7 separate regions of the Homo sapiens genome follow, and regions 2, 3, 4, 5, 6 and 7 are each linked to region 1. Evidence: promoter capture Hi-C in 16 types of primary human blood cells and fetal thymus (Javierre and others, 2016). All regions are on one chromosome and are shown on one strand. The core of a region is centred on a gene start or on the middle of the fragment in contact, and the rest is flanking DNA. Distances in the headings are between cores, read along the strand shown. Region 1 holds the start of GAD1 (glutamate decarboxylase 1). Region 2 overlaps MYO3B (myosin IIIB). Region 3 overlaps MYO3B (myosin IIIB). Region 4 overlaps MYO3B (myosin IIIB). Region 5 overlaps MYO3B (myosin IIIB). Region 6 overlaps MYO3B (myosin IIIB). Region 7 overlaps MYO3B (myosin IIIB).

Region 1 (3,451 bases), core at 669-3,168:
AGCCCCATTTATTTCCCAGCCTCCATTATCTCCGCGCTCCCCCTTCCCTTTCCGCCAGCTCAGCCTCCCGACGTCCCAGCGCCCCCATCTTCCCTGCAGTTCATTTGATAGAAAATTGGGGCGGGACCTACTTGTGGGGCGCAGGTTAGTGGTATTGGGGTCCGCTCCCGCGTTCGAGGAGGTTGCGGACGAAGATGGGGTCGAAGACGCCATCAGCTCGGTCGTCCCGGGGCCTCTACTGTCCAGAGTCCTCGACTGGTCCGGCGCAGAAACAGGCTGCAAAGAGAAGCGAGAGCTGTGCGGGGAGGACTTCCGGGGTCCTGCACACCGGAGGGACTGAGCAGCCGGGGGCACGGAGGCTCCCCTTGAAGATCCGGCTCTGGAGAGACAAGAGGGAGGAAAGGCAGCGAGCCTGCCTGGTAGGGGTGCGCAGGGGTGGGGGCAGCGGAGGAGACGTGCGCGCTAGCTCCGGTACTGGGGCGCAGGGAGCGTAGCCCTGGGCCGCTCTCGAGTCTGGCGGTGCATCGGCGCGACCTGGAGTGAAGCGCCGAGACGAGGCGGGGTCGGGGTCGGGGTGGGGGTCCAAGGCCAGTACAAGACGCAAGGGTGTGGGGGACTAGGCTAGGAGCACAGGGGAGCGCTCAGTGAGCGATTTTCCAGCCGAGCCGCTACAAGCCCCATTGGGCACTCAGCAGCCGGCGTGTGGGCCAGCGGGGGGAGGGCGCACGGGGCGGGCATGTCTGGTTCGGTGTCTGGTTCCCGTTGTTGTGTCTGGCTAATTCCCTGGAAAGAAAGAGGCTAACTGCTCCGGGGACTAGGGACTTTGGTGAGACAAGGTGAGAGGGGGAAAAAGGCCCATATCTTTACGTTCTCCCTCGGACTTGGCCAGAGAAGAACCACAGTCACCTTGCACTCCAGACAGCCAGAAAGCAGCGAGTCGGAATGTTGCTTGCCTCCCTCTTATCCCAGCCGGTTTTTAGCCATCGCTAAGCCTAGGGCGAGGTTTCGGTCCGGTTTCAGCGTTTCTCCTCTACCTAGCCCCCTGAGGACCCCAGATTTCTCGCGGTACAGATCCAGAGAGGGTGGGGTAAGTAAGCATGGGGAACGTCACCGGGGAAACGAACTTGCGCGCAGCGCGCAGGAGGCGGCGGACAAAGATCTTGCGCGGCGCCCCTGCTCGACTCTCGGCGCTGGCGCGATGGCGCCCGAAGGCCCCGGGACAGAGAGATTGCGGGCTAATCTGGGTAGATCGAGGACCCCACAGAGAAGGGCCCACCGGCCATCGCCTCCACACCCTCCCTCCGACCTCACTCCTAGCCCCGCGCGCGCAGTCGCACAGCAACTCGGGCAGCGGGTCGACTACGGCCCCTGGAAAAGTAACAGGTTACCGTTCCTAGTAGCGCCTTCGGCTGCTGCTGCCCAGGCGCCCTTTGGAGGGACAGGCGCTCGCAGCATGGAAGCTCAAGGGAAAATCGCTCTTGCCCCACTTCAACTAGAGCCTCAGCCTCCGTGCTTCCCCGGGGCGTGAATCCGGAGGGCAGGGATAAGAAGAGTGACGAGGGAGGCGGGGGGGGGGGGGTCCCTGCGCAGCGCACCCGTGGAGAGCAGGGACTAGGGCGGGCAGGAAGCACTCATTTCGGGAGGTTGGGTGGCCGGCGCTGGGATGGGGTTGGTTGAGAAGCCGCGGGAGGAGAGGACCTGGCTGAAAAGCCACGGTTGGGCGCTGGGAAGTCCAGGTGGTCGCTAGCTTACCCACCTCGGCTCTGCGACAGCGAGCCGGGCACTCCCGCCTTTCCTCTGCACAGCGCCCAGCGATCCGCTCGGCTCGGCCCTGACAGGCGTAATCTGCCCGGCGTCACCTCCAGCTGCTTCCTCGTTCTCGCTAGTTCCCTCTCGCACGCGAGCGCCAGGAGAAGAGAGAGATTCGGAGAGGCGGCTGCACGGCTCCGGGGTAGGCGGGGGCAGAGTGGGGAGGCGGGGACCGGATCGGCGGGGAAATCACGAGGCCGTTGCTCGCGGGGGCAGCTAGTCGGCGGAGCGGCGGGGCTCCTCTGCAGGTGCCTGACCGCCTCTGGAGCTTTATAGGGCGATTATAAATCCAGCTCACGGTTTTGCGCCCGGAAGGAAAAAAAAAAGGTCTTATGAGTAATCCAGAACGTACTCAACACGCTTTTTTTTTTTCCTTTGGAAATAGGCAGGCTGTCGGGTGAGAGGAGGGAAAAGATAATTCCTACGAAGAATTCTGCCTTTCTGAGCGTTTCTTCTTCCCTCCCCTCCTTTCCCCTCTCCCATTTCCCCTCCCCCTCCCATATATTGTAGGAGACGAGCGGCGGTTTTGCCTCAGTGCTTTTCCCCGGGGTTCCCCCAGATCTGTGACCCTGCGACGCTTCCTTGAGCGAAAGCGCGCTTTGGGTCGTGTCCTCGTTGGCTCTCTACGGAGCTGGGATTGTTGTAACCGCAAAGGAGGCAGAAATGAGGGGAGACCTCTTAGACCATGGAGGAATTACAGTTTCCTCATCCAGCCCTGGGCCCCATCAAAGTACCACACCTGGCCACAGCTACCCAGTGCCACCGGCAGAGAAAAGGACCCCGCGTCCCTTTTGCTATGCGCTCGCTCCTCGCTTTGGCCCCCTTGGTGATGGGAAAAGAAGGCCTCCTGATTAATCACGTTTGAAGGTTGATGACACGCACGAGCGCCGCTGCACGCGCATGGGGCACCCGAGCACAGAGGTGCCCGGAAGGGGCGGACCAGCCCCCCTTGCCCTGGCCCGCTCCCCCTTCGATTTCACGCGCTTTAAGGATTCTCCCTTTGCAATATTTAGGCGTAGTTAAAAGAACCGCTGCGTTGGGAGAAGCCCCTCGCCGTAAAAATGCGTTGAAAGAGAAATTCCCACCAGAGGGCGCCAAGAGCCCAGAGACGGAGAGGCCCTGCGCTCCCGGGTCTCTCCGCCAGCGCCCGAGCGGAGCCCACACCTGGAGCTGCTGGCCAGACGGTTACGCGCCGGCTTGCCTCTTCATGCCTTCCCTCACCGCCCTGTCACTAGTTTAAGTTCTCCCCTTTCTTCTCCCCCAGTTTTTTTCTTTAGGGCAAAAATGTTGATGTCTGTGCGTGTCTGGGTGACACCGTGTAGGCAGTGATTCCTTTACTGGTATTTACCGTGGTCCTCCCCCTCTCCCCAGGTGGTGCAGCACGCAGGGGTTATTTATGCGCACGTCTGGGGCCTCACTGGTTCAGCGGAGGCCCGTCCGTTTTCTTTGAATGCCTTATCGCCTTTCACCACAACACAATGGAAACACACACAAAAATATTATAAATTACCGAGAGTTCCATAAGGGAGATCGAAGGGTCCGCCCTGGGCAGACATGGCCTGATCAGCAAGAGGGATCTCGCTGTGGGGTTTGAAATAATCGCGTTGCCTTTGGTACTAAAGAAACTACTGTTTTGTCGCCT
Region 2 (3,451 bases), core at 707-3,206, 500 kb after region 1:
CTCAAAAAAAAAAAAAAGAATTATAAGTAAATTGTATGTCTCTTCACTGTCACTAATTCTCCAGATTATCTCTGACATGGTATGACACATTTCTGAGAAATCAGTCAATCAGTCTGCAAAATAATGCAGACTCTCAGGAATCATAAGTTAAATGCTGCTTCTAATTCCTAAAGCTTCAGTCTTTTCAGAAGCGAAAGAAATAGGGAATTGTGTGCTGATTTGTGAGAATCATAAACCAACAGAATAAAACATTAAGAACAACAGGATGCCTGTAATTTGAAGCAAAACTTGATAGTCCTAAAAATGTCAATTGGGTCCGTAATCACCCAGTACAAAGTCCATACACTTAATGAGCTCCTGCCAAGAATGACTGTTGCCAAATGAAATACGTGGATACTGATGGACCAGTCTTGAGTAGCATAGTGGGCACAAAACTGAGTAATGCTGAGTAAGAAATACAACATTGAGTAATACAGCTGTAGCGTAGTCTTCTATGTATTCTAATTCTAGAGATTCACTCCCAGCACCAGCACAAGATGCTTTTCTTCCAACACTTCCCATTCTAGAAGGACTTTCCATCTCTGCCAACTAACCCAAATCTTATTGTTTCATTAGGACTTGCCTCTCCCCATAGCCATCACAAAACATTTAGTTTAAAATACATAGTTCTTTATTTGATCATTCATTCATTCAATACAGTTTAATTGAATTTCCCACCAATAATATAAAAAACTGCTGAAAGCTGATTAGATGTATTTTTGTATATACTACCCCTTTCTTAGTGATGTTTTCTGTCCACAACAATTAAAGATCTAATGAAAGGTGATAAGATGAGAGCACAACCAAGGGAATTCAGAGGAGGGACAGAATGCTTTCAGTGGGATGAGCCAGCACATGGCACCCTAGTATGGCTGCAAGAGATGTTACTAGGCAGGGGTTACAGTGGGTAGCAAATCACACACACTTCATTGAGATGAATGCAGCTTGGACATTTCCTACAGAATCTAGCTCTTTTCTGTGAATTCATGCAAACTGTTGGTTGAACATATACATGAATTAATGAAACGGAGCCTATTTTGCCCTCATACAGGAAAATAGGCAAAATAGGCAAAGAAGGACCTGGCTCAAGGTCCTTCTGGGGAGAGGTGCTTGGCAGAATTTGGCCACAGTATCAATTCTAAACTGCACACTAAATAAACATAATAAAAGATGTGCGCCAGGAATAGAAGGCCAGCAGGATGTTACTTTTCTGAAAATGGCATTGGCAGGGGGGCTGTAGGGAGGGAGCACAGTCCCCTTCTTTCCCCCTCTTACTTGTCAGCCTTGTGGTTCACGAAAACCCAATTGGACCCTTGTTTTCTTTCCTGGGCCAGTAATGAATGGCAGTAATTATCCATGCAGGGCTGTGTGTGAGTCATGAGGTAGCTCTGGCTCCCTTCTCCTTGCAATTTTGAGCTGTGTGTGTGTGTCTGTGTGTGTGTTTCACCCGCTACTATTGAGGGGTGGAAAATAGATTACAATTACATTCCGGCTGGCTTTTGAAGACTTGATGGACAGCTGGAGAGAAATCTTGCCTGCAGCTGCTGGGATGAGAGGGTGGCCAAGAGGTGGGCGTGGAAAGAGGAAGAGAGGCCCTGTCAGAAGAGGGGGAAACAATACTAAATGAATTCAGGATATTCTCAAAGGAGCATTTTGAAGAGATCATGCTTGCTGACATTAAAACTGATTCTAGGGTCCAGGTGGCTGGCTGCATATCTGAATAATGTAGGTCCCTTTCAGGAACATTTTGAGTGTTCAAGTGCAGAGATGCTATCACTGGATCAGAGAGCAGCAAGATTAGACATAGACCAAGGCTGGCCCTGAAGATGGGCTCAGCTGTAGGTTTTTCCCTCTCTTCATCTGGAATCATTTTTCTAAGGTTAACCCCAACCCCTAACCTTTATTTATTTATTTTTTTTAGTATGTATATGGGGAGCTTTCATGTACTTACTGAGCACTATGTTTGGCACTTGGCCATACATGTTATCTACATGCCTCACATAATCCATATTACTCCCCTTCAAGGGAAAGGTCATAACCCTTATTTTACAGAGGGGGAAAACGAAGTTGAGAAAGGTGAAATAACTATCTCAAGGATGTTAAGTATTAAGGTGAACAACCCAGGCAGGCCAACTTCAAAGTGCCAAACAGTGCAATATTTTATTTCTTATTACAGTCAAAAAAATCACAAATTTAGAAAGCAGGAATGCCAATTACTGGGAGTAGAAGAAGGGGCAATGCTAATGCATTTATTACATTTGTCTAAAACAGATACCCAGTTGTCTAGGTCCTTCAATTCCATAATGGTTAAGAAAATAAAACACCATGATTATATCACAAATGAAATATAAATAGTTCCTCTATGTGTAACTTAGAAACATTTGCAGGTATGTAGGTGAAAATCAGCACTCCATAGAAGGCACCAAGAAACTCATCAGCTTTAAGTGTAACCAGAATTCAAACAATAATTGTAGGGAAACATGCCCCCAAAATTGTACGTAGGTGTGATTTCCCTGGATACCAAACGGAAGTGATTTCAACTGGCCTCTAACCCTCAGTGAATGTGGTTAGAACAGTGGTCTGCAGAGCTACCAAGCAAAATAATCAGAAAAGTGTCCCTTATCCTTAGCTAATTGCAAAATAAACATTTCTATTCCTTCCCACCAGCCTTCCACGCAGGATTCACTTTGATGGCATTTGCCTCTTGGTTCAGATCAAACTTAGATCACAATTTAAGAACTGGTTTATTAACACCACCAGCAAGTCCTTTGTCAATGGGGTCAGAACCCTTGCCTAGGCAATGACATGACATCTACTCACATTTAGTCAGGGATTTCTTTGTTCAGCAATACACTAAATAGGCACAGTCATCCCCTACTAAAAGCCAGGAGCTGTACTAAATATTAGGGGAGCCATTCTCACACTCAGTGCTCATAGATAAGTAAATGGACCATTAAGTAAACGCTGTCTGGATGAGTCAGAGAAGGATGCTCATGTCACATTTCAGCTCCCTTCTATCAATTTACCCTGTCCCAGACCAGTCTTAAAGTAGTCATATCATGAAATCACAACAAACCTGAACTGTAGTCTAGACACATTTGTGACTGTGAGAAAAGATGAAACCTTGAAGAAACGTGCATCTTAGGACACTTGGTTCTGTGAGTGGTAGAAGAGGTTGTGCAAAGAAATAAGACATAGTCAGGAGCAAATAAAAAGTTACCCCGTGCGAAAAGCAATATTGAAAAATAAGAAAAGAGCACTCACACTTTCTTATTTCAACACCTACTACAAAGCAACAGCAATCAAAGTAGTGTGATTACCGGCATAAGAAGCGACGTACAGATCAATGGGATAGAATGGAGGGTCCAGAAATAAACCCATATATTTGATTGATTTTCGACAATGTTGCCAA
Region 3 (3,451 bases), core at 360-2,859, 480 kb after region 1:
GAGATTGTTGATCTGTATTGTGATTTATTAAGGAAGATGATCAAAAGACCCACTTTGCTTTATTGCCTGGCTTCTTTGTGAAAGCTAAGTTTGCACAGAGGCATAAATTAGAAAAATTTGTGTTGACCCTTCCCCACTTCTTATTTATCAGCTAATTTGGTCACTTCTTTTCTCCTCCCACGACCTCTGAACACCTTGTTTCATATACTAGATCCTACAGGACTTCTTCCAAGCTCCTCTGCCTTGGTATGGTTGGTAATGCCTGGTCTAGATTCCTGTCCCCTCAATTCACCAGGCCCCTAGCTTGGGGCCCTGTAACCTCCTCCAGTAGTCTGAGTATCTTTCTCAGACTTAGGACCAGTGTGGTCCAAAAGCCCATGACCCCAGCACTGAGCCACTATTGGTTTCACTGTTGATTCTGCTCCTGTCTGAGTCCCAGCAATACTTGCCTAGTGACATAGCTCCTACCAGGTATGTCACACCATCATCTTGGCCTTCATTTTGTTCCTCATACCTTGAGCCTTGGCTGGGATACCTTACCTTGGTACCCCAAGCCTGAGATTCTACTTTGTCCCTCTATCATCTTGGAAACTGGACCCTTGTTCCCATGCCACAGATCCTAGAGGAAGCCCAACTTTCACACTGCAAAAACTCTGTTGGAGGCTGCTACCTTCTGTCTTCTCTTTGGTCCTAATGTAGGCATCAGATTTTTAGATGTTTCATCTCTCCCCATTAAACATGACAAGTTGTCAATATTTGCCCTAAGACAAAGTAGGTTCTCAGATAAATGTGACCCATATGATAAGAAGGACTTATTATAACTGAGAGTCAAATGGAACGCCTTACTTTTCACATCTTGCAAAGGCATCTTCTATCATTTACTAGAACAAACCCCGAGTCATAACGTGCTAACAGGCATAACAACCTCTAGTGTCAAGTAAATTCCACAGCCTGGATTTCTCCAATCACTGCTCAAGGCCTTGCTAGATGGGCAATTTTTAGTGGAAGAAATACTCACTGTGAAATAAAGTGGTTGAATTCTTCACACCATTTTTCTGGATGAAGTAAAGTAGGTGGAGGATTTCTGAAAAAATAACAGCAATTTTTTCTTAAGAAAGAAGAATTTCATTAAAGGCAAAATATCAACTTGTTTTTATTGATATCATTCTAAATAGCTCTAATAAAATCTGTTTGTTCTCATATGAGAGTCATTTTTTAGTGGTAGATTATAAAGTGCCAACCCTTATTCCTGTAGTCATTCATTTTCATTGACTGAAGACCTACTATGTCCCTGGCCTTCTCAGGACCTGTGAAAGTTACAAAGATCAGGAACATTCTTCAAGAAGCAGACACCCTAATGAGGGGTGAGGCAAGCACACAAACTACTATAACAGAGCTGAGGATTATTAGTGCTATAAGAAAGCTCTAAACATAGTGCTAGGGGCTTTAGTGAAATAGACGTTTAATTGTACAGGATTTTCAGATCATTATGGTACCATTTGGATTAATTATGTGATGCATTTAAAGTGTACTCATAAATTCATAGTCACATTTTTAACTATCTCCTATGTATCAACTTCTGCAATAAGCACTGGAGAAAGTCAGACAGTCAAAACAATGTCCCAGACTCCGTGAAGTTCCTGGGTAGAGAAGGAGACAGACATATACCATACCTAATAATTGGATGTCCGAGAGAATGAGAGAATGGCAGAAAGAACTTTAGGTAAGCAGACAACCTCTTGGTGAGAGGGCAAAAAAAAAGAGGGGTGGGGATGGGGTAAGAGCCCTGATTTGCTTGAATACCACGAAGAGATCTGATTTCAAAACAGAAGTGACTATATTACCTTTAATTGATGAGACTTTTTTCTAGCAATACATGGAAATAAGGGCTTGTCGGCAACTCAAGTTCAGAAAATGAAGAAAGTGACAGTTCTGCACACATGAATTATGGCTGTAAATTTTAAAGCCATCATATGTGATCCTTGATTTTACCTTGATTCTAACTGCTTCCTAAAGCCATGGATTGCTCAGATTCAATAGGCAGAGGAATGGGAAGCAGCAAGAATTACCAGAAATAAATATACATCAGATAATGTGATCGCAATTTGCCCCTCGATATCCATTATCTTCTCATTTCTTATAGTACAATTTTTATTTCAGCATACTGCTGCCGTAATAAAGATTACAATTTCTTGAGTTCCTTACGGCTAGATGTGGTTCTGTGATCAAGTTCTAGTCAATGATATATAAATAGAAGTATTATATGGTATTTCCAGAAAGTCTCCTTAAAAGAGGGGAGACATGCCATTCTTCTCCTTCCCCCTTCTTTCTTTTTAGAGCATGGGTATGATGGCTAGAGCTTGAGCAGCCATTGTGGACATCAGATGAACTTGAAAGTGAAAACTATGAGCTGAATACGACAAAGCAAACAGATAGAAAACTGGATTCATTATGACATTGCAAAGCTGCCAGACCAGCTCTAGTCTGCTTCCCCCTAATCTTCCTTACTAAGAGAGAGAAATAAACTTCCATCTTCTTCAAGCCACTGGTACATGCAGCTGAGTCTAATCCTCAGTCAGATAACCTTTCCGAGTATTTTCCTACCATATGATTAGAACATAATATGGTAAGTGATATACTAGAAGCACAAGCACCATATGTGGGTAGAATAATTAAGATGCTGCTTACTCAATCTAGGGAGTCTCAAAAGACTTTATAGAAGATAAACTTGAGCTGGCTTCTGAAAATTAGATTGGATTTTTCAAGATAGAGAAGGAGAGTGAAGCCATTTTAGGCTCAGAAAACAATACGTACCAAGACACAAGGATGTAAAAAAGCATAGTATGTCCAAAAAACCTAATTTGTTGAGGCTAGACTATATATGATCTTTTGGATCTGAAGAGAGAGCAGGGGGGAAGGATAAGATGAGAAGGAAGAATGATTAGAGGAAGGAGATGATTTATCTGTTCTGCATACGAATTTAGTTACCCTTCATATCTTATAATTCAAAAACCTATAAATTATCTGTGTATTACCCAGAAAGAATAGCAGTTAAATTTTTTTCCCCCTTCTGCTGGATCAGAGACAAAGGAGGAGGCTGCCTCTTTATCTCATTCACTCCATTCAACAACATATGCCTTCATCTTTCCCTAGTACCACCATCACATAAGTTCAGCTTCAGTCCTAGTTTGACTGAGCAGTTCTTACTGCCTGTGGCTATCTGAGGTTTTACATGCCCTGCCAGCTCACCTCTGTGGGCAGCTTTGGTGCTATATCTTTCAGTGAGTCCGTTATCCTAGATCATCTCTACAGCCGTATCCAGGATTTGCACTTTCCTTGATCTTCTCAGGTTTCCTGATCATTCTGTTCTAAGGTCAGTCCCACAGAGAAGAGCTGCTTAAGCAATCTACTGTCTAATAGACTTCATTCACCCCCAAAGCAGTTCACCATG
Region 4 (3,451 bases), core at 417-2,916, 410 kb after region 1:
ACCTTGCAGTGAGAGTGTGCCTCTCAGGCACAGGCAGCTCCACAGCCAGATGCAGCCAGGTGTAAGCAGAAGGGGGCTGCAGAAACCTGGGAGGAGCCCTGTCTCCTGGTGACCTTGGGCCTCCTTATTCTACTCCTCATGCTTTTTAATCTCTTCAATAGTCTGGAAAGTGGGAGCTGGAAACAAGAAAATACCAACTGGATTACTCTCTATGATTTTATATTATGATTGCACATATACACACCGAGGTTGATCCTCTCAACCTTGATAAGAAATTAAATCAAGCCCCAGTAGTGTCATGCGCCATGTACATTTTGGTCAACAATGGACTGCATATAAACTGGTGGTCCTGTAACATTATCATACCATAGTTGTACTGTACCTTTTCTATGTTTAGATATGTTTAGATACACAAATACTTGGCATTGTCTTACAATTAACTACAACATTCAGTATAGTAACATACTGTACAGGTTTACAGCCCGAGAACAGTAGACTACAACATATAGCCTAGATGTATAGTAGATTATATCATTTAGGTTTGTGTAAGAACTCTATGATGTTTGTACAACGATGAAATCAACTAACGATGCATTTCTCAGAATGCATCCCCATCATTAAGCTATGCATGACTATACTTTTTTTGATATATACTAATGAAGGGAATGTTACCTGCCCAGCAACCCAGAGAGGAGGTAACTTGAAAGAACAGGAAAGTGATCCTGGGGCTGTTTTGAAAGCAAAGGACAGTGGCAATCTAGCTACCAGAAAACCTCAAGTTAACTGTCAGGAATCCTTCGATAAAGAAATTAAAGTTTTTCTTTGCATTTAAACAATTTTAATTCTAATTTTTTTTCAGAGATGGGGGGTGTCACTGTGTTGCCCAGACCGGCCTTGAACTCCTGGGCTCAAGTGATTCTCCTGCCTCAGCCTCCTGAGTAGCTGGGACTCTAGCCATGCGCTACCACATCAAGCTTTTTTTTTCTCTTTGTATTTTAAGGGGTCTTCTCTATCTTTTGGAGAAAAAAACCCAACATTACTATGACACAGAATGCACACACAAAAAAGTATGCAAAACATAAATGTACAGCATAATAAATATAATGCAAGCATACATGTAACCACCACCAAGATCAGGAGCCAGACCACTGCCAACATCTCTTAGGGGTCTTCCTAACAAACGTCTTCTCCTCTTTCAAAATTGAGGAGTCCAGCACTGGACCTCCTTTTATGCTTTGAGCTAATTGCCTCTAAGGTTTCCCAAGTTTTTTTTTTTTTTTTTTTCTTTTTTTTTGTTGAGACGGAGTCTTGCACTGTTCCCAGGCTGGAGTGCAATGGCATGGTCTTGGCTCACCGCAACCTCCACCTCCTGGGTTCAAGCAATTCTCCTGCTCCAGACTCCCTAGTAGCTGGGATTACAGGTGCCCGCCACCACACCCGGCTAATTTTTTGTATTTTTAGTAGAGACGGGGTTTCACTATGTTGGCCAGGCTGGTCTCGAACTCCTGACCTCGTGATCCACCCACCTTGTGATCCGCCTGCCTCGGCCTCCCAAAGTGCTGGGATTACAGGCGTGAGCCACCGCGCCTGGCCTCAACTTTGATCTTTTTCCTTCCTCCCTGTAGTTCATTCCTCAAAAGAGGTTTGTAAAGTAATTGACCATAATATATATGCTTACTGAACTAGTGCTCCATTTAATTTCGATAAAACAATTAAAGCAAGGAAAAATAAAAGTGACAAGAAAATGGTTTCTTATGCATTGAAAATATTAGCATATTCTTTTCCAAAGTGCCAGGATAGTGTGGGATCTTGCTTCTAGTGGGAACATCAAGATGTATAGGCACCTTCCCCTTCACGAGAGGGACATGCCTGAAACAAGCATTGGCAAAGAACAGCATAACTTATTTCTGTCCAGTGAGGTTTCCCATCTTCAAAGGCTGTAACATAATAACCCCCAAAAATATAGACTATGAACGTTTTAAAATTTAGAAAAGTAATATTCTGACATTCAACACAGGATGCACAATCATGTTAGAATCGAGGTTTGAGGGCAACTATTGTCATAAGGAGATAAATTAGTGCCCAATTCTGTATAGAAAATTCCATATAGAAAATGAAGTTAAAAGAAAGTTCTAGTTGGTGTACGGCAAAGCCGTATTACCTTTACTCCTATATTTCCCTCGTTGCCTAAAAAGTACCTTATTACTAGAAGCTGTTCTTTAAATGTTTGTTGATTGAATTCATTCCTACATAAATAATTCCAGAAAAAGAAAACACAATCATGCTTATAAGTTTTGATGTTTGTGGCTTCTTAACTATACTCAAAATGTGGAGAATCCTAAGCTATACTCAAGCTTAGGATCTCAAAGGAAATTACTATGCATAATATATAGCTCAGGAATACTGGGAAGCCTATTGGTACATCACGTTTGTGTCTAGTCTTATTTTTCACTTTTGTTTCTATCAAGTGGTGTGGAGTGTAGTTTCAAAACAAGATTCAGAAACAAGAGGAAAGCTCTTTGGGAGGGGTAAAAAAGACGCAGCGGCGGAGGTTATCTCTTTGTTCCTGTTCCTCCCGCAGTTGGGTGAATCAAGGGAGAACAGAGACCGGCTGCAGGGCCTTACTTTCTGCATAGCGCCCCCTAGTGGTCCAGGCTGTTAAATGGTTTTTATTTTGCCAAAGGTTGAAAAATCGGAAATTCCGAAGTTGTGAACAGATTTGACAAGTCGTTATTAATATTTGTGGGAGGATGTAAATGCCAGCTGAAGAGTTATTTGGATAGATTTTTTTCCCAGAGAGCATGTCCCCTATCAATAATGGCTGTCTCTTCACCTCTGTGCTGAAGTCGCCTGATGAGGAGTCTACATCCCTGGGTCTCTGGTAAGGAAACACCAGATAGCCCTTTCCACACCTGCCCCGAGCTCCTGGGATTCCATATTGAATTAAACCCCGGCTGCTCCAAGGAAGGTCTGGAATGGAAGCTGGAGGGCAGCCTTCTGATGGGCACTGCTACTAGTTCTGTTTACAGGAGCATGTCTGAAAAAAGAGCCGGATTTCAACTTTCCTTCCAAGTTAAGATGAAGCAAAGGCTGTAGACTGTGGCTTTTTTTTTTTTCTTAGCCAGGCTTTTCATTCCTCTGCAAGCTGCTAAAAATCAGACCTGGCAGCCAGTTAAGAGGGATGTGGGAAGAAAAGAAGAGGAAATAGTGAACAATGAACAGTGATAAAAAGGTTTCTCTTCCTCTTTTTCTTAAAAGCATGCCCACTGCTATTTCCAGACCTAGCCTAAAAAACACAAAGCCCTTGAGAGTAGAGCTGTGAGAAGGCTGAGTTGGCCGCCCAGCTAAAAGCAGCAGAATCCCAGGTACATTCTAAAAGGTTGACTCAATTAGAATCCATTTGGAAAAACAGTTAAGACCTGGAAGTTCTGTTCTTTGGCCCTAGTTTCCT
Region 5 (3,451 bases), core at 349-2,848, 390 kb after region 1:
CATGCCACTGCACTCCAGCCTGGGTGACAGAGCTAGACTCCGTCTCAAAAAAAAAAAAAAAGCTATCCAGAAAAAAAAATTTTTATGGAATGATTCTATTGATGGGAATGTTGAAAACCTGTAGATGATCTAGTGTCCAGGTAAGGGGGACAGTTTTGAAATAGGGGACCTTTTGTTTAATGATGCTCATGTTATTCATACTTTGAAATAATACAGTAAAGGCCTTCTATGGGTCTTATAAAGATGAATAGAATGCAATTAGTATATATGAGGGATTCATTCTAGTACCCCCTAGTATACCAAAACCTACGCACTCAGCCCTGAAGAACCCACATATATGAAAAGTTGGCCCTCCATATATGCAGTTTTGCATCCAACCAATATTGTATTTTTTATCTGCATTTGTTTGAAAAAAAAAAAAAAAACCTGTGTATAAGTGGACCTGCACAGTTCAAACCAACATTGTTCAAGAGCCAACTATACAGTTCTTTGTTTTAAGGAGAAGACAGCCCAGAGAAGCTCTTGGGGGGAAGGGGAAAGGCTGACATATAAACAATTCATTGCGATTGAAACTGGTGAGTGTTAGAATAAATCTCTGAATAAAGTGACACAAGGGGACAGAATACTAAGTTTTCATGAGAGGATGAGGAAAACAAAAACTGAAGAGTAGTCAATGAATGAGCTAGATTGTGAAAGCTTAACATGAGTTTGACAGGAAATGGAAGGTATTCTATCTGAAAGACATGCGCAAGACAGATACAGAATGTAAACCTGAGGGTTCCAGAGAGTTCCAGAGAGCTTGTAAGACAAATTTCTAGGAGGCTTCTTATTTTAAAATTAGACATTTAATAATAGCATTAAAACATTTATTATTTTACCCTTGCAAACATAAAAACAAGTTACTCACCACTCCCTTCCAGTGAAAATACCACCTGTGGGGACAGTTTTAGGGGGAAGAAAATATGGGGAAGAAGGCTTTGCTAAGGTATCATAAGTCACTGGTGGGACTGGGAACAAAAGCTTGTTCTGCTCTTCAGGTGGCCTTCAGGTAGAATGCCCATTCATCTGTGTGGCCAAAGGTGGATGGTTTGGATACGAGCTACTAGGAGACTCATTCCAGTTAAAATAGTGCTGATATGGCCAAAGTCTTAAGTAAAATCTCATATGGGTCAGGTAGTTTCATACAGAGAAGTTACATTCCACAGTCTAAGAATAGAATCCTAAATAAAATGCTCAGGCAGGAGCAAATCAACTGATCACTGCAAATTAAAAAATCCCTCCCTAGAAGATTTGCACAACATACCTTATCTATTGGTGGTAGGTCAGTCATATAATTTCCCGCAACACCTATGCTTCCTTGTGTTTTTAAGCCTGAGAAAGTTACACAGGGCTTCAGCAAACAAGACGCTGTTAGCTTCCCATTGTGCAGGATTATGATTCAGTGCTTGGAACTATAACTGCTTTTTTGAGTTTCCCTCTTTAGCATGGAAGCAATGAAAAGGACACTGGAAAGTGAGAAACTTGGATTCCTATCCCACACCTGCCACTGACTTAAGGAGATCATGTCTACTCTTTATGACTCATTTGTATTATATGTCAAATGAGGAGTTTGAGAAGATCAGTGGTTCTGCACTTGTGTGTCATGGCATTCCGTCATGGTGTCCATAATGAACACCCTTTGTGGCTATGTAGCTTCACCTAGATCAATGCCAGGCATGTGGTGTAGATGGGGGTGGACTGTTCTCTGAAATGGAACTACAACGAACAGTGTGTAATGTCAACCTGGTGCCAAAATAAAATATTGTGTGATATCTGTGGCCAGGACATGTGTGAGCTTTACCTAAGCTATAAATCAGAGAGCTAATCAAGGAAGTAAACAGTATTGTTCAAAAATCAACAACACGCTGAACAACAAGGAAACACGTAAGTGCAATAACTAGATGCAAGTTGGAGTAAAAAAAGTTAAGTATTGTTAGGCTTCCATCCAGCTCTGAAATTTTATCTATAGTTGTGAAATATCTCCTAAAAGACCCCTGAAGTGGGGGAAATAAGAAAGAACAAAATAAAGACAATAAAACTAAAATCTGCAAAATGTATTATTTCTTAGCAGTTCAGTAGGCAACAGAAGAAGTGGGTGGTGATGATAGCCTCGCTTAGATAAATGGAGGAAGCTTAGATAGTGGTTTTACAGAGGCCTGGATATTTAATTTGCCAATGTTCTCTTCACAGCTAACACAGGCAACCAGCAATGGCTCTGTTGCTATGATCTCTTCAGTTATTCCTCCTCCTTTACTTTGCTATTGTGGCTAAGGTAAGCTTATTCAGTTCTCTAATTTTTTAATATCATTCTTGTTTCTTAGCACGTGAGAGGAGACAGAGGCATAGTTTTTTGCTCCCTTTCTGCAATGTTTTTAAGATTAATGAATTCAAGGTGTTCATTTTTCAACATCTTTATAACATCTATTCTCCTAGTAAAACATTATGCTTCTGTTTGCATATTGGCAAGTACCAGCCATTTTGAAAAACTGGGTGCTAATGTGAAGGCAATAATCACTTATACGAGCTTTTTTTTCCTATTGGGTCTCTGAAAGTACTCAAGGGTAGCTTTTGATATATAGGTATCCAAGTCTAATTTTCACATTTACCAGTTATTTTTGTTATATTTTAAAGAATGACTATTCCATGTCACTAGCTCTTTTATAAAAGAACCTAGTATAAACATCCATGTATATGTATATATCCTTGGGAAAAACTATAGCAACTTAAGAATCCAGAAAATAAGGAGAGGCATACTGAAATAGGTAGTATTCCACAGGAAACCAAACTTGCATGTGCCCAATTGGCCAGCATTACTCATATCTAAACTACATTGTTATAATGTTTCTGAACACCCATGCACACACATTTCTTATAGATATATGTATAACCCGTTCATAAAACGCCAGTGCCCAGAAACACTTCTTCCATTGAAATTTATATGTTTCATGGTGTTAAAGAATGAAGTTAATGTAACTTACATTCTTAAGCACAGGCATTGATTTTTGGAGACCTTGGCTTTATGGAACTGTAATGCTGTATTATCCAAACTAACTGATTTCAAAAAGACTTTCTAAATTAAAGTATTATCTGACAGACTTGCGATGCAATTACTGATTTTTTTTTGAAAGAGTGAAACCTATTGAGAATAAAGGCCAACAAAGATTATTTATCTGATGAAGGAACTCTACAAGCATCACAACTCTACACTAATTCTAGAGGTTGCAGGTAGTCAGTACAATTGTGTCTGAGTCCTTTAAACTCAATGCAAATATGCTATCTTATATTAGTATTAATCTTTAGAAATGATTTGGCTCCTTATAGATGTTACAACCTCTTTGAAGCCAGGTACTAAGTATCTATTTCTTTTCTTTTTTTTTTTGAGACTGAGTCTCGCACTATCACCCAGGCTAGA
Region 6 (3,451 bases), core at 413-2,912, 370 kb after region 1:
AATTCAAAGGCCAAAAATATTGGCTTTCCTGGCTGGAGTCTGGAATAAGAGATTTTAAAAGTTTTTTTAAAAAACAAAAGAGCTCTACTGTTAAAATCAGCTTAATTAAAATGGATATCCAAGCTATACATACTTAAAAGGCCTTTATCTTTTTCCTCTTCTTGAATCATATTTTTCTGAAAAAGGCTTTTCTTCTCAGTTGACGGAATTATTTTTCTCCATTTTGTCTTTTTGTTGCTCTTGATGCCCACATGAGAGAACCTAAGAATTTCAAAAGCCTGGACTCCTGGGGAAAAACAGAGGTGGCACCACAGACCCCATTCTGGAAAAAACCTGTTTTCCTCATGGAACCCCAGGAATTGAAAGTGAATAGATCTCTCTCAAAATCTAAGGCTTTGTTTGGTTTTACGTTATGTTACCTGAACCTTTTTTTTTTTACTTTTGGGGGTATCAGAAATTACTTTGCATTATGGGAAAGCCTTTAGCCTTGGTGTATAGCAACTTTAAGGGATATTGGCTGTTATGGAGGGATACTTGGCTCTTTGCATGCTTGGATTAGAGAAGCATGCTTGGCCATCTGGAAGGTGTGCAAACATCCCCACCTTCCACTGAGAGATGAGACTCCCATGTAGATGGGCTGATTACAAAATGGGCCGATTGGCTTTGGGTTGCCTTGCAATAAAATGCACAGTAAAAGCGTTGTACTGTCTTCTTCCATAGTGTTTTCCTCTTTTTGGGGATCCAGGATGTGATATAAAAATGGGACCCTTAATTTTGGGGATCTGTTTTTGCCTTCCAGCTGTGCCTGCTTATTAGGCCCTGAAAACTGCAAGCTTTCCTCACCCTATTCCTCCAAGGGCTCCACCCTGAAGCCAGTAATCCAACTATTGACAAATGAAAATCTTGACAACTACTGGATCTTCTTTTCTGTGTATATTCATGTCTGTTTGTGTGATGTTTATATATGAAAGTGCTCTGAACAATTGGGGGTAAAAATAAGGGCTTAAATCAAATATTTTGTTAGAAAAATAGAAACTTTAAGTTTTTGTTCATGTGACTTTAGTAATCTTTCGGAAATAAAGACAATTTTAAAGATTACTGGTAAAATAAAAATGTCTTCAAAATTTAGACATTTGGTCAAAACATTTGGTCTAAATTAGGTCAGATATTAGGTTTGTTAAAATGCTTTAAGGTAATAAACTGCTTCTTTGACTTTTGAAAACTGTTTGACTTACCTACTTTGGAGTCATTAGGTTCTAGATAAGGCCTAGGGACATGTGGCGTAAGCCATGCCGCCTACCTGTACTAGGAAGAATCAAACCTTATTTGTACTTCTGTCTGGTGTCCTAGGCTCCACAGCTAGTATATATTAAAATCATTTACTTATCAGGCTTTTCACCAAAAATGAAAGATGCAAAAAGTTAATAGTGTAACATGTACTTGAGTCCACTGGAAAAAGAGTTTTACATGCAAGGTTGCAAGGTATAGAAGGAAAGTAGAATGTGGTTTTGGTGGGAAATTATAAGAAGGCATGGGAATATGGTTTTTGTTAAAGGGAATGTAATTTTGTCTAGTTAAGAGGGTTTTAAAGAATGTCTTAAACTAAAAGAGTAAAGGGACAAAATTGAAGGTTTAAGCAAGTTAGAAAGGTTTGTGAAGGGTTGATCTGATAAAGGAAGTTCTGTGAGAAGCAGCAAGTTGGCTAAGAGTTGAAGGGAATTGTTTAGTATTTTTCTATAGCTCAAACATTAAAATAAAAGCACACTGATGTGGAGCCAGAATCTGGGCCCATGTGTCTGAATAGCAGGGTTTTCTTTTAAAAAAATTGATCTGTTTAACAGAAAATTGTAAAGAGTTATAAGAAGTTTATGAAAATCTTACCTTATGGTCAAACTAATTAAAACTGCATAAATTTATAAAATTTTATTAAAAACTAGCTTTAGCATTAAAGATGCCCTAAAGCAAACATGAAACTTAGTTTTCTCTTTTGAAAAAGATTTTTATGTAATATTAGAGACAATGAAAACAAATCTTGTTTGCCTTTTGAGTAAACTACAAAAAAAAAAGGGAGGGGAGAGAGAAGAGACAGATTCAGCTGGCCTCATGCTGTCTTCATAGGATCTTGTTGTCTAGAAAGCTGAGTCTCCTCTCTATCAGAGTACAGGTCTTTTCCTTTTTAAAATTTCTGGGTTATCATTTTGGCTAAATGAATGACTTACGGTGACCTGGGATTCTATTTAGTGATATCCAGTGTTGTAAACCTTTGATATGTGACAAACTTTCCAAAATTAAATTATAAAGTATGTCTTTTTCTGACCTAATTAATCTTTTAGATATTAGGTCCCCTAAAGTGCAAAAATGATGTATTTGCTTTCTTATATAAAAATCACACAGGAAACACTGTCAAATATGAAATGATGTTTGGCTTTCTTTGGACTGTATTTTTATAAATATGTTATTTGTATGTGTTCCAAAATTATAGGAAGCTTCTATAATTCTGATATAATTTAATGTATATTAAGCCTTTTAATTATTATGTAAAATTGTTGTGTGCCACAGAAGTAACCAAAATTCCTAGTCAGTTGTAGCTTTAATAGTGGCTGTCCTAAGACTTTTGTCATCCACAGACAGTTGTCTTGTTTTGATCCTTTTCAGAAGGCAGTTTATAATCAGATATAGGGCTCTGATGGGTTCTCTTGAATGCAGGTCTCTGATAATGTAGAAATTGTGTTATTGGAATAGAGGAAACAAAACAAACTTCTAGGACTTATGGAGAGCTGATGTGATAAACATTGCGAATCCTTTTGTTTTTCAGAGTCAAGAAAACTTCTTCTTTTTCTTTTCTTTTTTTTTTTTGAGACAGAGTTCTGCTCTTGTCACCCAGGCTGGAGTGCAACGGCGCGATCTCAGCTCACCGCAGCCTCTGCCTCCTGGGTTCAAGCAATTCTCCTGCCTCAGCCTCCCGAGTAGCTAGGATTACAGGCATGTACCACCACGCCCAGCTAATTTTGTATTTTTAGTAGAGATGGAGTTTCTTCATGTTGGTCAGGCTGGTCTCAAGCTCCTGACCTCAGGTGATCCGCCCACCTCAGCCTCCCAAAGTGCTGGGATTACAGGCATGAGCCACTGTGTTCAGCCAAGAAAACTTTTTTTTTGAGTTATTTAGAACATTTAGCAATTGAGTAAAGTATACTCCCATGAATGAAATTTGGAGCATATTGCTTTCTCTCTACCTGATTCCTCCAGAATTTAGAAACTATTTGTGAGTATTCTCAACTTATGGCAGTCTAGTTTTTTGCATAACTGCAATAAAAATCTCATTTCTTTTGTAACAGGGCACAACTGGAGAAACTGGTTATTTTACCAGGCTTTGACTGGAATGGCATGCTTTCTTTAAATAATCAAAGTTGACTTATAGAGCTAATAAAGGGAAAGCTGGCCTCATACCTTG
Region 7 (3,451 bases), core at 663-3,162, 310 kb after region 1:
ATAATTAGCCAGGCAGATTATTTCTCACCCAGTTGAAAGTAATGATGAGGACATTTACCAAGGACTCTGAGGCTTTGAAATGGTGGCTCCTAGACCGAGGGCTGCCTGGAGGAGGGCCCGATAACAAGGACACAGAGTTCCTAATGGTGGCCGCCCAGTCCTTATGAGGAGAAAGCCTGGGAAGGTTAATACCCTGACTTTGATCTCTGTCAAGGCATACCAGCAAGAATTAATTTACATTTCAGATGAAAAAGGTTGACAGCATGAAAAGGCATCTTGTTTCTGGTATGTGAATGTGCCGTAATAGATCGGGAATTCTGAAAGGAAGTTCTGAGGAAGCTAAAGGGATAAGCCGCACGGCTGCTTTTATTGGGAAGGAGATGAAAGGAAAACAAATTTCAATATGTGCTGCCCTGTAGCAACATGTAGGCCAAATGCTTCCTAAATTTCAAGGGCCGCTCTTTTAAAAATATATAACATATCTTAGCAACACCACTTAAGAAAATACTATGGGCCAGAACTAGAAATACAAATGCATTCCACAGAATCTAAATTTCAAATGAAATGATTTGTTGAAAAAATAATAAATTAGAGAATAACCTTAGAAAACAACCGGAAATGGTTGTGCTGTGACAACATCCCTAAGCCACTTCCTGCAGGCTCCTAAAGCGGGGAGCCACTGTATCTGGGTCTGGTTCTACTAGGAAATGTCCTAGTGGGACGAAGAGAGGCTTGTAATGAGATTATGTTTGGGGAAGATCACAACCCCAAACAGAAACGTCGGAATGAGTTGCTTTGCTTCTTAGATAAACGCAATTATGCCTTCAAATCTAAAGATAAGGAAAATATTCCCAAGTAAAAGTAAACTGCCCATAAAATTGCAAAGATTGCTACCCTATTCATGCATCTTTACCACCAACACAAAACCAGCGCACCAATTCCTGTCCACGGTGTTGGCTAAAGGGCAGATGCTGTCTGCCTTTGCTCTGGCTGCCACACTACTTCTAAGAGGGCAGAGGTGGTGTTGGTGCCACCTTCATGCCCATCTAAGCCCCTGCAGACTCAGTTAATGGAAGTTCCCAACATCACTTGATAGGCAAGAACACTTTGGCTGCAAGGCTAAGAAAGGGGAGGTGCTTGCAAGGCTAAAAAAAAAAAAGGACGGCACCCTTAAAGAAATGTGTTTTCTAAAGTCCTGCTGGGTGCTTGCAAGGCTAAAAAAAAGGAAGGCACCTTAATGTGTTTTCTAAAGTCCTGCTGGGTGCTTGCAAGGCTAAAAAAAAGGAAGGCACCTTAATGTGTTTTCTAAAGTCCTGCTGGGTGCTTGCAAGGCTAAAAAAAAAAAAAAAAAAGGGAGACACCCTTAAAGAAACATGCTTTTTAAAGTTTCGCTGAGCAACATTATCCTTCCATGGTAGCTACCCCATAGGTGCTCCACTGAAAAGATACAATTATTACTATCCTGATCCATGATGATGAAGCAGACCCATTTCTGTTTTACAGCAGTATTCACTTGGCATTAACAGAGTGCAAGACAGGGAGCACTCAAAAGATGACTTTCACTTAGGGAAAATTGGATTTATGATTCCTGTATACTGAACTCAGTGGATCAACAATAAATAAGCTCAAGCAAGTTTAAATTTTAAAACACATGTTGGCCTTTGTACCAAACTGCAAGATCAGAAATCAGTTTGGTACCCTGTTTTAATGAGAGATTGTGTGCGTGTTGGGAGGCAGGCAAGTAGGGAACAAATGATGCACTTTGAGTTCTCTCTTAAGCTGTAACAAGAATTGCATCCCTCTTCCTGGGGCTTTGAAGTTGTAGAGCTTAGAATTCCTAGGAGATGGTGTTAAAAGTTAACATTTGCATTTTAATAGCACTCTTTCCGCCCAACTATTTTCGTTTTGAATGAAGACATCAGGCTTCTACAGTGGTCTAAGAGTTCTGAGAAGTTTACTTGGAGCCAGGTTCCGAGGAGGGACTTCTTTCAAGAGGTTGCAGCTGTTTTATTTAAGAGTTTCCTTCAAGCTCAGCTGTATGTGAAATCCTATCACTCTCTCTGCTGCTGAGTCTACCAGCCTGGCTATTTCTCTCATTCTGTCTCTAATTTCTTGTGGCTCCTGGAGCTCAGGGGCCTGTTTCTTCCAGAGCCTCGAGTAGGAATATGCAGCTTCAAATGAGGGAAGGAGCCCAGCCTGGCACCCGCACCCACAGTGGACACTGCCATTTGCAGAAGAGCAGAGTGACTGAAGAGCCAGAGAGGGGACGGATGAGTCAGAAACCAGAGCTTACACCTCTCAGGCTGCCAATAGCAAGCCGAGCCATAAAAGCCACCATGTGCTCATGCCATGGGGCCCAGAGGACCATGATAGCCACATATAAGCCTGGATTTGGGAAACAGTTTGCTGGGAAACTCCCTGAGTGATTCCTCCTCTGTGATGCTAAGAAACAGGTCTTGCATATAATTAGAGAATTCCAAAATGGGAAGGCACCTTCTGGACCTTTTTAACCAGCGCTCTCATTTAACAGACGAGGGACATATGACTCCGAGAGGGAAAGGGTTTTGTTCAGGTGGCAGTATGCGATGCTGACTCTATCCAAACGGCCTGTGTTCAAATGCTGGCTCTGCAACTGATGAACTGTGTGATGGTGGACAAGTCCCTTCACTTCTCAGTGCCTCAGTTTCCTCCTCTATAATATCAGGTATACAAGAGAACCCAGTCAGAGCATCCTTAGCCAAGTGTGGCAAACAGCAAATGCTCATGCTCACCGTTAGCATCATAGTTATCACACAAGGAGGGTCAGAACACTAGGACTCCTGTCTCCCAGAACTCTTGACTCATTCCAGTGCTCCTGAATTATTAACCTTTCAGCTTTTCTACATTCACAGAAGTTAGTCACAGAATATTTTCAAGTGGACACTGTGAAAATGATGTTTTAATTACCTGCTTGATTATGAGCAGCAGACTCATTCCTTCTGTTGCTTATTTTCTTAAATTTCCTCCGAGCATCATATCCTCTCCAGGCTAAAAATATAAAACCATGTGCTAGGAATGACATTAATTTAAGAACGTGCCAGAGAATTGATATAAGCTGTTTTCCCCTCCAGCCTATTGCCCGTCTCATCCTCCCTCCTGCTTTCTCACTGAACAAAATAAGCAGAGGTATGTGATCTATGGCGAGAAGAGAGGCCTCTCTGTTCTCACAGCTTGGCTTTAAAGATGCTTCTGAGGGGTTGCTTTTGTTCAGGCAGTGATTTCCAGAACACTCTGGGTTCCACTGATGAATCACATGGGACCCCTACTCCAGGTGAGATGGTTTCCTGTCATTCTAATCCCTGGAGAAAGCCCTGTCTTCAAGACTCGGGGATATGATACAGGTGGAAGGGTTTGGCAGGGATGGTAGAAAGGAACTGGAATAGCCTGACCCTTTCAAAATCTGTTATTTGGG

What was found. Contacts are between HindIII fragments. The CHiCAGO score rates a contact against its expected background, and 5 or more counts as called.
Region 2: a contact is called between a fragment that was not itself captured here and the fragment with the promoter of GAD1 in region 1, in 3 of 17 cell types (naive CD8 T cells, fetal thymus and megakaryocytes). The highest score is 7.0, in naive CD8 T cells.
Region 3: a contact is called between a fragment that was not itself captured here and the fragment with the promoter of GAD1 in region 1, in 9 of 17 cell types (fetal thymus, total CD4 T cells, megakaryocytes and 6 more). The highest score is 14.1, in fetal thymus.
Region 4: a fragment that was not itself captured here is called in contact with the fragment with the promoter of GAD1 in region 1 in 14 of 17 cell types (total CD4 T cells, naive CD4 T cells, total CD8 T cells and 11 more); the score reaches 37.8 in total CD4 T cells.
Region 5: a contact is called between a fragment that was not itself captured here and the fragment with the promoter of GAD1 in region 1, in 12 of 17 cell types (naive CD4 T cells, total CD4 T cells, total CD8 T cells and 9 more). The highest score is 15.3, in naive CD4 T cells.
Region 6: a contact is called between a fragment that was not itself captured here and the fragment with the promoter of GAD1 in region 1, in 6 of 17 cell types (non-activated CD4 T cells, naive CD4 T cells, fetal thymus and 3 more). The highest score is 7.8, in non-activated CD4 T cells.
Region 7: a fragment that was not itself captured here is called in contact with the fragment with the promoter of GAD1 in region 1 in 6 of 17 cell types (naive CD4 T cells, non-activated CD4 T cells, total CD8 T cells and 3 more); the score reaches 7.4 in naive CD4 T cells.

The regions. Positions count from the first base shown.
Region 1 is chr2:170,815,354-170,818,804 of GRCh38, reverse strand. It overlaps GAD1 (glutamate decarboxylase 1), which reads right to left and starts at 1,918. Exons shown (of 17, transcript NM_000817.3): 1 at 1,757-1,918; 2 at 132-276. The coding sequence starts at 213. GAD1-AS1 (GAD1 antisense RNA 1) reads left to right here and starts at 154. Exons shown (of 4, transcript NR_197761.1): 1 at 154-419; 2 at 890-1,087; 3 at 1,773-1,951; 4 at 2,320-3,451. RefSeq lists enhancers at 1-3, 4-527, 1,767-1,936 and a silencer at 2,024-2,103. The HindIII fragment of the contact is 11,655 bases long and covers 1-3,451 here.
Region 2 is chr2:170,311,884-170,315,334 of GRCh38, reverse strand. All of the region lies in intron 7 of MYO3B (myosin IIIB), which reads right to left. Among named protein-coding and RNA genes, the nearest start is that of MYO3B-AS1, 37 kb to the left of the region's middle. The HindIII fragment of the contact is 3,561 bases long and covers 176-3,451 here.
Region 3 is chr2:170,333,018-170,336,468 of GRCh38, reverse strand. MYO3B (myosin IIIB) reads right to left here. Exons shown (of 35, transcript NM_138995.5): 8 at 1,019-1,084. LOC124906090 (a long non-coding RNA gene) reads left to right here. Exons shown (of 4, transcript XR_007087292.1): 3 at 1,590-1,723; 4 at 2,338-2,541. Among named protein-coding and RNA genes, the nearest start is that of MYO3B-AS1, 16 kb to the left of the region's middle. The HindIII fragment of the contact is 8,589 bases long and covers 1-3,451 here.
Region 4 is chr2:170,408,426-170,411,876 of GRCh38, reverse strand. The region is part of intron 22 of MYO3B (myosin IIIB); the gene reads right to left. Among named protein-coding and RNA genes, the nearest start is that of MYO3B-AS1, 59 kb to the right of the region's middle. The HindIII fragment of the contact is 1,380 bases long and covers 977-2,356 here.
Region 5 is chr2:170,426,985-170,430,435 of GRCh38, reverse strand. The region is part of intron 22 of MYO3B (myosin IIIB); the gene reads right to left. Among named protein-coding and RNA genes, the nearest start is that of MYO3B-AS1, 78 kb to the right of the region's middle. The HindIII fragment of the contact is 1,151 bases long and covers 1,023-2,173 here.
Region 6 is chr2:170,449,183-170,452,633 of GRCh38, reverse strand. The region is part of intron 23 of MYO3B (myosin IIIB); the gene reads right to left. Among named protein-coding and RNA genes, the nearest start is that of MYO3B-AS1, 100 kb to the right of the region's middle. The HindIII fragment of the contact is 1,653 bases long and covers 836-2,488 here.
Region 7 is chr2:170,501,361-170,504,811 of GRCh38, reverse strand. It overlaps MYO3B (myosin IIIB), which reads right to left. Exons shown (of 35, transcript NM_138995.5): 28 at 2,947-3,027. Among named protein-coding and RNA genes, the nearest start is that of MYO3B-AS1, 150 kb to the right of the region's middle. The HindIII fragment of the contact is 5,344 bases long and covers 1-3,451 here.